Linked DNA regions of Homo sapiens: region 2 is linked to region 1. Evidence: promoter capture Hi-C in 16 types of primary human blood cells and fetal thymus (Javierre and others, 2016). All regions are on one chromosome and are shown on one strand. Each heading gives the region's core, a stretch centred on a gene start or on the middle of the fragment in contact. The rest is flanking DNA. Distances are from core to core; before and after follow the strand shown. Region 1 holds the start of CEP170 (centrosomal protein 170). Region 2 overlaps LOC105373262 (a long non-coding RNA gene).

Region 1 (4,463 bases), core at 1-2,500:
AATGGCATAGAGCTATCCAAGAGTTTCTGCTGTCGCCGGTTGAGAAAGATGCCAAGTTAAGATCAAGGAGTTGATTGAGGTAACTACGGGAATCTGAGGAAACATCGTTGCTTAACTGTAAAAACTAAATCAAACTATTTCATCCTCCTCAAGACCACAGCAACATCCATCTTGCTCCTCTGTAGCGTGGACGGGGCAGAACCCAGGTGTTAGGAAACGCACCTGGTCTGCTCCCGCCCACTAGGCCCTGGGCACCTCGGGGCTAGGGACAGAGGTTTGGAGCAACTCACCCCGGAGACTCCGTTGATACTGCCCCAGAATCTCCTCCAGGGTAGAGTTCTCCGGGGACTTCGCCATGCACGCACTCTAGGCCCAGAGCTGGGAGTTACGTGGGGAAATGTCCAGCTTTCTCCCTTCCGAGAACAACAGGCCTGTGGCCGGGGAGCGCCCGCCTGCTTCCTGCCGCGGCTGTCACAGGGGAGCCTAGAATCCCGCACAGAGCTCTTGGGGGCTCTTCCCACCCACTGGCCCTCGCTTTGCACGTCGGGAGTTGTAGTCCTCACGTTCAGAACCTGCAAGCTCGACAATCCTCAGGGCCTTCCAGTTACACTACAATTCCCAGAAACCACTGCGCTCCAGGCGCTAGCTTGGACGGTTTGGCTGCCAGAGCCTGCTGCCAAGAGACAGGCTTGCAGGCCCCGCCCTTTTCCTCCAGCCCAGCCTGGTTTAGTCCCGCCTCCATCCCACTCTTCAGCTGCCTGGACCACCCAAATGACAGAAAGGGCTCACTGAAGGCCTTGACGCTTCGAAATTTGCTAATATGCAGCAGTTGATCCCCAGGCTACTCAAGGACGCAGATAGTAAACTCTGAACCCTGCTTCAGTTGCGAGATTTTTTAAAACGGTCGAATAAATCTTCAAGAAATAGAAGCTCTAAATCTTCCAAACAGCCTAGATTGTAAAGGCGGCCGACACTACAACTCCTAGCATGCCCAGCAACCGGACCTTCACTTGGAGTTGGCGCTCTGCCCGCTGGGAACTGTAGTCCTTGTTGGTTGCGGTCCCACCTAACGCCGAGGTCCTCTTCATTGTTCAAGCTGGTCTTTCGGGGCACGCCTGCGCAGTGGGCAAGCTGGAAAAGCGTGTGGGTGAGACCCTCGCACAACCCCTTTTCATTGTCTGTGTGTGGCGCCTGCGCAGTAAGGGATCGTTGGAACTGGGCAGGAGGGGATAGGGTCCGGCTCCTCGCCCTTTCCCGAGGCGCCTGCGCACTAGGCAGTCGGTCTTTGCCGTTACCGCTATGTGTGGGGCGTGTGTGGAATAACGTTATTGCCCAGCGGAGCTGAGGGCCCCGGAGCTCGACCGCAGCGGCAGCGACGACAACAGCGGCGACGACGACGACGACGAGGTGGGGGGAGGACGGCGTGCGAGAGACTCACGGGACGCGACGCGCCCCGCCTCCCCCGTCCGGTCCCTCTCTCCACGGTAAGGGGTAAGTGATGCGATCGGCTGCTCGGTGTAGGCGCCGCAGCCGCAGCCACCGCCGCGGCTGCTTTCCACATCCTGCTCCTCGGGTTTGCGGCGAGGACTCGGGCGCCGCCCGCCGCGGGGCGGGGGTGCGGGGCTGGACCGCGAAGGGGGCGCTTCCCGGGTGCTCCGCGCGGCGCCGCCACCCCCACCCTCTGCCCGCCTGGGACCCGGGGCTTGACGGGACCACCCTTCCCATCCCCCACCCGCCGCCCCCCGGAGCTCCAGTCCTGCGGCCCCCCGGCTTTCCCGAGCCCCTTGCTGCCGCCTCCGCATCCCCTAAGTGCATTGAATCATTTTCAGCTTTCGACTGGCTTTGTGCAGCCCTCCCCCCTCCGCCGTAGCAGTTTGCGAGGGGTGCGGGCGGAGCATTGGAGGGAATGGCTGCGCTGCCGCTGGGGAAGGGATTTTTCCCCCATTGGAGCAGCTCCCCGGGCCAATCCCTTTTGTGTGATTGGTTTTGGGGTGTGAGGCGGTTGGCGAGGTCAGGCGAGCAACCTTTTGGACGCGTTGGGAGGGCGTGGAAGACGCGGTGTCATGCACCCTGCCTGGCGACTGCACCCCGTGGAGGCTCTGGCTCTGTAGTAAACCCGGGGGAGGAGAGAGTGGCTTCCTGTCGGCTTCATTGTCCTAGGATTCAGATGTAGGGTTTTGGTACGTTTCGCTTCCATTTTATGCAAGCGATGAAAAAATAACATTTGCAGCTGCCTAACACAGGGCGGGAAGACGTGGGATTTGTATACTAAGTCACAGAATCTCTGTTCGGTGGTGTTTCGTAGAGTTTTATTTATTTATTTATTTATTTATTTATTTATTTTGAGGAATGTAAGGAAGACAGGGACTATGCCTGCTGGAGTCCAAGCACTGCCAAGGTGATCAATATAAAATTACTAGGTGACGTTGGAGCCTGGGCTAGAGAGGGCCTGACAACGAAGCTGTTGTGTCAGGGAAATGAACAAGCAGAATTGTTTTTTCATTGGGCAGGTAATGCATTTATGTTCCTGAGGGAATGGATACATCTTTCCGTTTATTTTTTAAGCAAGTAAAACAAACAAAACAACTGGCCCAGTACATTTCTGTTACCGAAGTTGTTAACTCATTTTTATTCTCTTAATGAAAATTCAGCCATTTGGGAGGAATTTGGCGAAGCAGATGATACATTTGATTGAAAATGCATATTTTAAAATGATTTAATCCTTAAGCTTACAATGTATGCAGCCGTTTGCTGGCGTTGCTTCTTAAAACACACCAGAAGAGAGAATAAAGCAGGATGGGGAGGAGCAGGTGGAGGAATAATGGGAGAGGAGAGAGTGACATTATGACTATAGTATCTGGATCTTCACTGGTATAACCCTAACTGGGTATGCTTCAGAGACTTAGGAATTCAGCTCTGGAAACAGTACACTGATGAATAGCAACTTATGTATTTTTCTGTTATTATTTTTTAAAAAGTAAAACTAGGGCTGCCTTTAGCTCTTCCTAACTTTGTAGATAACACGGAAGAGCCCAAGTGCACTTGACAGAGGAAGACACTAAAACTCAGAAAGTTAACTGACTTGTCTGCCCAAGCCAGACAGTTAATCGAAGGCAGAGCCAAACGAAACTCAAGGTCCATTCTGCAGAGTGATCTTTCCTGTGTCCCCCTAGCCCTTTTACCTTGTGAAAATGTATGGAAAGCTTCTCTATGTGCTCCCTGAGTAGGCTGTGACTATCACTGAACTTGATTCTCACCGTGATTAATCTAGTTCTTGCCTTTGTGATGTAAAAGTAGTAATCCTCCTAAAATGGACCTTTACTTTCATAAAGTAACTTACTACATGAGGAAAGATGTCCTAACATGTGCTTTTCATAAAAACGAAGTGTTGCAGTGTTTTCCCTACTACCTAATGGTAGCTACTTAACGGTAGGTTTTAATATTATTTCTTGAAAATCAATAGTATTTTATAATAGTATGATGATCAACTCTATAGGCTGTGTTAAAAATAAAATTTCCGCATAACAAGAACCTATGATGTTTATTTTGCCACAGTTAATGAGTTGTAATCATTAATGAGTTATTAGTGATTACTTTTAACTTAAACTAGAATTTACATTTTAAGATATATTAACTTTATGTTTTTTATTGGGTTGATTTTGCCATAAAGTGCTTTTTTCTTCCCTTATAATTTTAATCGTTTAATTTTACGTTGCATTTTAATAGACTTCTTTAAAGGATTTATTATTTATCTTAAATTTCAACTTTAAAAATCTGTAACTAAATTTCAGTATGTGGGATTATATTCAATCATGCTTTAAATGTATTTTACTGGTAAATTTCATTGTGTTCTGAGATTATTTTGTATGGAAATAATCTGCCTGTTCCCTATTTTAACATTAGAATAGTGAAATTTATACTGTAAACCTTAGCATACATTCTGCATATTAATGCTGTTATGGTACTTTTTAAAATTCTGTGCTTCGTGATTTATTTGATTTGTTCCAAGTATCAGTTTCTTGTTCCTTTTTATCTACTGAAAAAAAGAACTAGTTTTATTATTGTATCTGATTGCAATTAGATAATGCTCATCTAGTACTAAATATTGTATATGCTTAAGCTTTTTTGTCAAAATGTTTTTTATTCCACAAAATTGTATTCCTGAAAAATATTTTTTCTATACTAATTAATAGGTAAAGACTTTTCTTTCTTATCTGTCCCAAACACTGGGATGTTAAGCAGTGTACTCTTCAACTAAGTATCTGACAGACAACCTGATATTTAATTGCTAACTAAAGTATCTGTACAGTTGCAAATTATTCTGGAAGTATAACAAAAGAGCAGTTACGTGCCATTTGAAGAATGCTTGGTGAGTAGATAGTATTGACTGGAGCATTCAGTGTTGATCTGTTTCATTAAGAAATGGGATACTTTTGATGGGAAGAAATATCTTTATTTCATTA
Region 2 (4,463 bases), core at 1,322-3,821, 1.0 Mb before region 1:
AAGACATGGAGTCAATCGAAATGCCTATCAACGGCAGACTGGATTAAGAAAATGTGGTACATATACAACATGGAATACTATGCAGTCATAAAAATGAATGAGATCATGGCCTTTGCAGCAACATGGATAGAGCTAGAGGCCATTAGCCTAAGCAAACTAACACAGGAACAGAAAACCAAATACCACACGTTCTCACTTATAAATGGGAGCTAAACAATGAGAAAACATGGATACTAGGAGGGGGACAACACACACGGGGGCCCCCTTGAGAGTGGAGGGTGGGAGGAGGGAGAGGAGCAGAAAAAGCATCTGTTGGGTACTGGGCTTACTACCAGGGTGCCAAAATTATCTGTACACCAAACCCCAGTGCACACAGTTTACCTGCGTAACAAACCTGCACAGCCGGGCCTGGTGGCTCATGCCTGTAATCCCAGCACTTTGGAAGGCTGAAGCAGACAGATCACCTGAGGTCAGGAGTTTGAGACCAGCCTGGCCAACATGGTGAAGCCCCGTCTCTACTAGAAATATAAAAATTAGCCGGGAGTGGTGTCACGCACCTGTAGTCCCAGCTACTTGGGAGGCTGAGGCAGGAGATTCGCTTGAACCCGAGAGGTGCGGGTTGCAGTGAGCCAAGATCACGCCACTGCACTCTAGCCTGGGCAACAGGGTGAGACTGCATCTCAAAAATAAACAAACAGACCTGCACATGTAACCCTGAACCTAAAATAAAAGTTTTAAAAAAGTGATTTATATATGATCTAGAAAACTGAAAGTCTGAAGAGACTCTAGTCTCTGCCTAAACTCCACCCCTTCCCCCTAATCCCCTGACCCCTGCTCCTTCTCACACTTTTGTGAGATCAGATTTAGAGGACAGGTAACATATTACCCGTTTTATTAATAGGTTTATCCTAAATAAATAAAAAAGAATATCCTAAAATGAGATTATTTCTCCAAATAAATTAATTCATTGGATTGTATTTAAAGCTGGCAGTGCCCCCTTCTCTGTTGTTTTGCTGTCAAATTTTCCAAACTTACAAGTGTCCGTTTGCCAGTCCTGTATGTGAAGACATCCAGTCAGTCTAGCAGTGGACTCTGACACTCTCCCCCTCTGGCCTTCTGGAATCTTTTAGCCTCGTGGCTGGCACTCAAACCCAGATGTCTGAGTTTCCAAGGCTGGTGTTTTTCCATGTATTACAGAAAACTCCAAGAGATGTCTGCAGTATTATTGTGGCCATCACCAGTTCCGCTCTTGTTAGACAGTGGGTGCTTCAGGTCAGATTTGGCCATCATACCTTTAATTCCCACTCTCATTTGGCTCATGTTAAGTGTTTAAAAAGAACATGAAAAACCTCTAAAGAAAACCTCACCTTCTCGCACCTTCCTGAAGGAAAACCCAGACTGCTCTCTCTCCCTCACTGCTATCTCTCTCTCTGTCTGCTATCCCTCTCTGTCTGCTGTCTCTCCCTTACTGCTATCTCTCTCTGACTGCTATCTCTCTCTCTGACTGCTATCTCTCTCTTTGCCTGCTATCTCTCCCTCACTGCTCTCTCTCTCCCTGACTGCTATCTCTCTCTGACTGCTCTCTTTCTCCCTGACTGCTATCTCTCTCTTTGCCTGCTATCTCTCCCTCACTGCTATCTCTCTCTTTGCCTGCTATCTCTCCCTCACTGCTCTCTCCCTCACTGCTATCTCTCTCCCTCACTGCTATCTCTCCCTGACTGCTATCTCTCCCTGACTGCTATCTCTCTCTCTGACTGCTATCTCTTCCTGACTGCTATCTCTCTCCCTCACTGCTATCTCTCTCCCTCACTGCTATCTCTCTCCCTCACTGCTATCTCTCTCCCTCACTGCTATCTCTCCCTGACTGCTATTTCTCCCTCACTGCTATCTCTCCCTCACTGTTATCTCTCTCCCTCACTGCTATCTCTCTCCCTCACTGCTATCTCTCTCCCTCACTGCTATCTCTCCCTGACTGCTATTTCTCCCTCACTGCTATCTCTCCCTCACTGTTATCTCTCTCCCTCACTGCTATCTCTCTCCCTCACTGCTATCTCTCTCCCTCACTGCTATCACTCTCCCTCACTGCTATCTCTCTCCCTCACTGCTATCTCTCTCCCTCACTGCTATCTCTCCCTCACTGCTATCTCTCTGTCTGCTATCTCTCTCCCTCACTGCTATCTCTCTCCCTCACTGCTGTCTCTCCCTCACTGCTATCTCTCTCTCTGTCTGCTATCTCTCTCCCTCACTGCTATCTCTCTCTTTGTCTGCTATCTCTCTCCCTCACTGCTATCTCTCTCTCTGTCTGCTATCTCTCTCCCTCACTGCTATCTCTCCCTGACTGCTATCTCTCTCCCTCACTGCTATCTCTCTCCCTCACTGCTATCTCTCTCTCTGTCTGCTATCTCTCCCTCACTGCTATCTCTCTCCCTCACTGCTATCTCTCTCTCTGACTGCTATCTCTCCCTCACTGCTATCTCTCCCTCACTGCTATCTCTCCCTGACTGCTATCTCTCCCCGACTGCTATCTCTCCCTGTCTGTTATCTCTGTCGGACTGCTATCTCTCTCCCTGACTGCTATGTCTCCCCGACTGCTATCTCTCCCCATCTGCTATCTATCTCTGACTATCTCTCCCTGTCTGCTATCTCTCCCTGTCTGCTATCTCTCTCTGTCTGCTCTCTCTCTCTCTGACTGCTATCTCTCTCCCTGACTGCTATCTCTCTCCCTGTCTGCTCTCTCTCCCTGACTGCTATCTCTCTCCCTGACTGCTATCTCTCCCTGACTGCTATCTCTCCCTGACTGCTATCTCTCTCCCCGTCTGCTCTCTCTCCCTGACTGCTATCTCTCTCCCAGTGTGGAAGAGAGGAAGAACCTCCTATTTTCAGACATGGCCTGTGGAGAAGAAAGCCCCAGGTTGCATCCACAGGGTGGTGTCTCTGGAAGATTCTGGGATAACCCTGTAAGAGTTTGGTGGAAGAGGCCGGGTGCAATGGCTCACGCCTGTAATCCCAGCACTTTGGGAGGCCAAGACAGGTGGATTGCTTGAGGTCAGGAGTTCGAGACCAGCCTGGCCAACATGATGAAACCCCATCTCTACCAAAAATACAAAAGTTAGCTGGGCATGGTGGTGTGCACTTATAATCCCAGCTACTCGGGAGGCTGAGGCAGGAGAATCACTTGAACCTGAGAGGCGGAGGTTGCAGTGATCTGGGAGCCCACCACTGCCCTCCAGCCTGAGTGACAGAGCAAGACTCAGTATTAAAAAAAATAAAAAGAGTTAGGTGGGAGGAATGAGTGCCTTCTCTGATTCAGGCGTTCTGGCATGTCACCTCTAGGGGATTGAAGGGGGACCCTCATTCTGTAGGACAGAGGGATAACCTTTCACCTCCATCCCCCAGATGTGCCCCAGGATCTCCTGTAGACACAGCCTACCTCCCCCTCCTATAATCCTCACCAGCGAGCACACTTGGGGTGCTGGTGACTCATCCTGGATCCTAAGGGAGGCTTCCTGAGGATGGGCCTAGTGAACCAAACTTGGAGACAGAAGGTGAGTATGGAGACAGCGGAGCCCAGCCCGGAGGGAAGATGGCCTGGACATGAGTCATCCGTCCTCATCATTCGCCCAAGGATTCGATGTTCCTTTGGCTGGCATCTATTTTCTCTTTGCAAAACTATTGATCCTGCTGCCAAATGTACCCTAAGCCTACCTTATGCATCAGTGAGATGAATGATAAATTCAGTAACCTGAGGACACAGTAACGAGAGGGCACAGAGGACAGTGACTTGGACTTTCATCAGTAGACTTAACACTGGTTGGGCCACGGCCCGAGCAGGACTGAAATTTAGCAGGAGATGAGGACAGTAACATTTGGGTTTGTTCACCAAGCCCCCAGCTTGGCACCAGAAATTTTTGGCTTTCTGCAAACAGCTGCACAGAAGCAGTGGCCAAACCCAGCTAGTGTGTGATGAGTCATCTTGCGTCAGCATCGTGCAGCACAGACATCCTATGAGGGCTCCTTTAGCTGCTGTGTCTGGTTTGGGCTTTTTCCAAAAGACGAGGGAGCCAAATACCTAAGCCCCCACACTAATGAGCACTTTGCGATTCCATGTAAGCAAAGTTATTTCACCTCCCAAGACGCATCTACACTCCTCATTATTCATTGGCTGGCCCCGTGAAGCAAGGCCGAAGAAACTGACTTGACTTAAATCAGAAAAATGAAAACGGAGAGGACTTGGCAGTATGTATCTTTAGGAAAGCATGAGACAGTGTAAAGTCCTTCTCTTTATTCTGAGGCCAGGGCTTTAGACTATAGTAAGGTTAGTCATTGAAACCGATTTCAAGTTTCTAAAGTTTTACCAAGTATGATGATAGAAACTACTTCTCTAGGGATTTTTAATATATTCATGTGCATATGATTTTAAAGTGGACAAGGCACTCTTCATATGCATGATCTTATGTAAACAC

The links. The method cuts DNA at HindIII sites, captures the fragments that hold promoters and counts their contacts. A CHiCAGO score of 5 or more calls a contact.
Region 2: a contact is called between a fragment that was not itself captured here and the fragment with the promoter of CEP170 in region 1, in 5 of 17 cell types (neutrophils, fetal thymus, monocytes and 2 more). The highest score is 12.5, in neutrophils.

The regions. Positions count from the first base shown.
Region 1 is chr1:243,252,068-243,256,530 of GRCh38, reverse strand. It overlaps CEP170 (centrosomal protein 170), which reads left to right and starts at 1,250. Exons shown (of 20, transcript NM_014812.3): 1 at 1,250-1,491. SDCCAG8 (SHH signaling and ciliogenesis regulator SDCCAG8) reads right to left here and starts at 490. Exons shown (of 18, transcript NM_006642.5): 1 at 291-490. The coding sequence starts at 357. The HindIII fragment of the contact is 10,208 bases long and covers 1-2,730 here.
Region 2 is chr1:244,273,512-244,277,974 of GRCh38, reverse strand. All of the region lies in intron 1 of LOC105373262 (a long non-coding RNA gene), which reads left to right. Among named protein-coding and RNA genes, the nearest start is that of SPMIP3, 77 kb to the left of the region's middle. The HindIII fragment of the contact is 6,583 bases long and covers 1-4,463 here.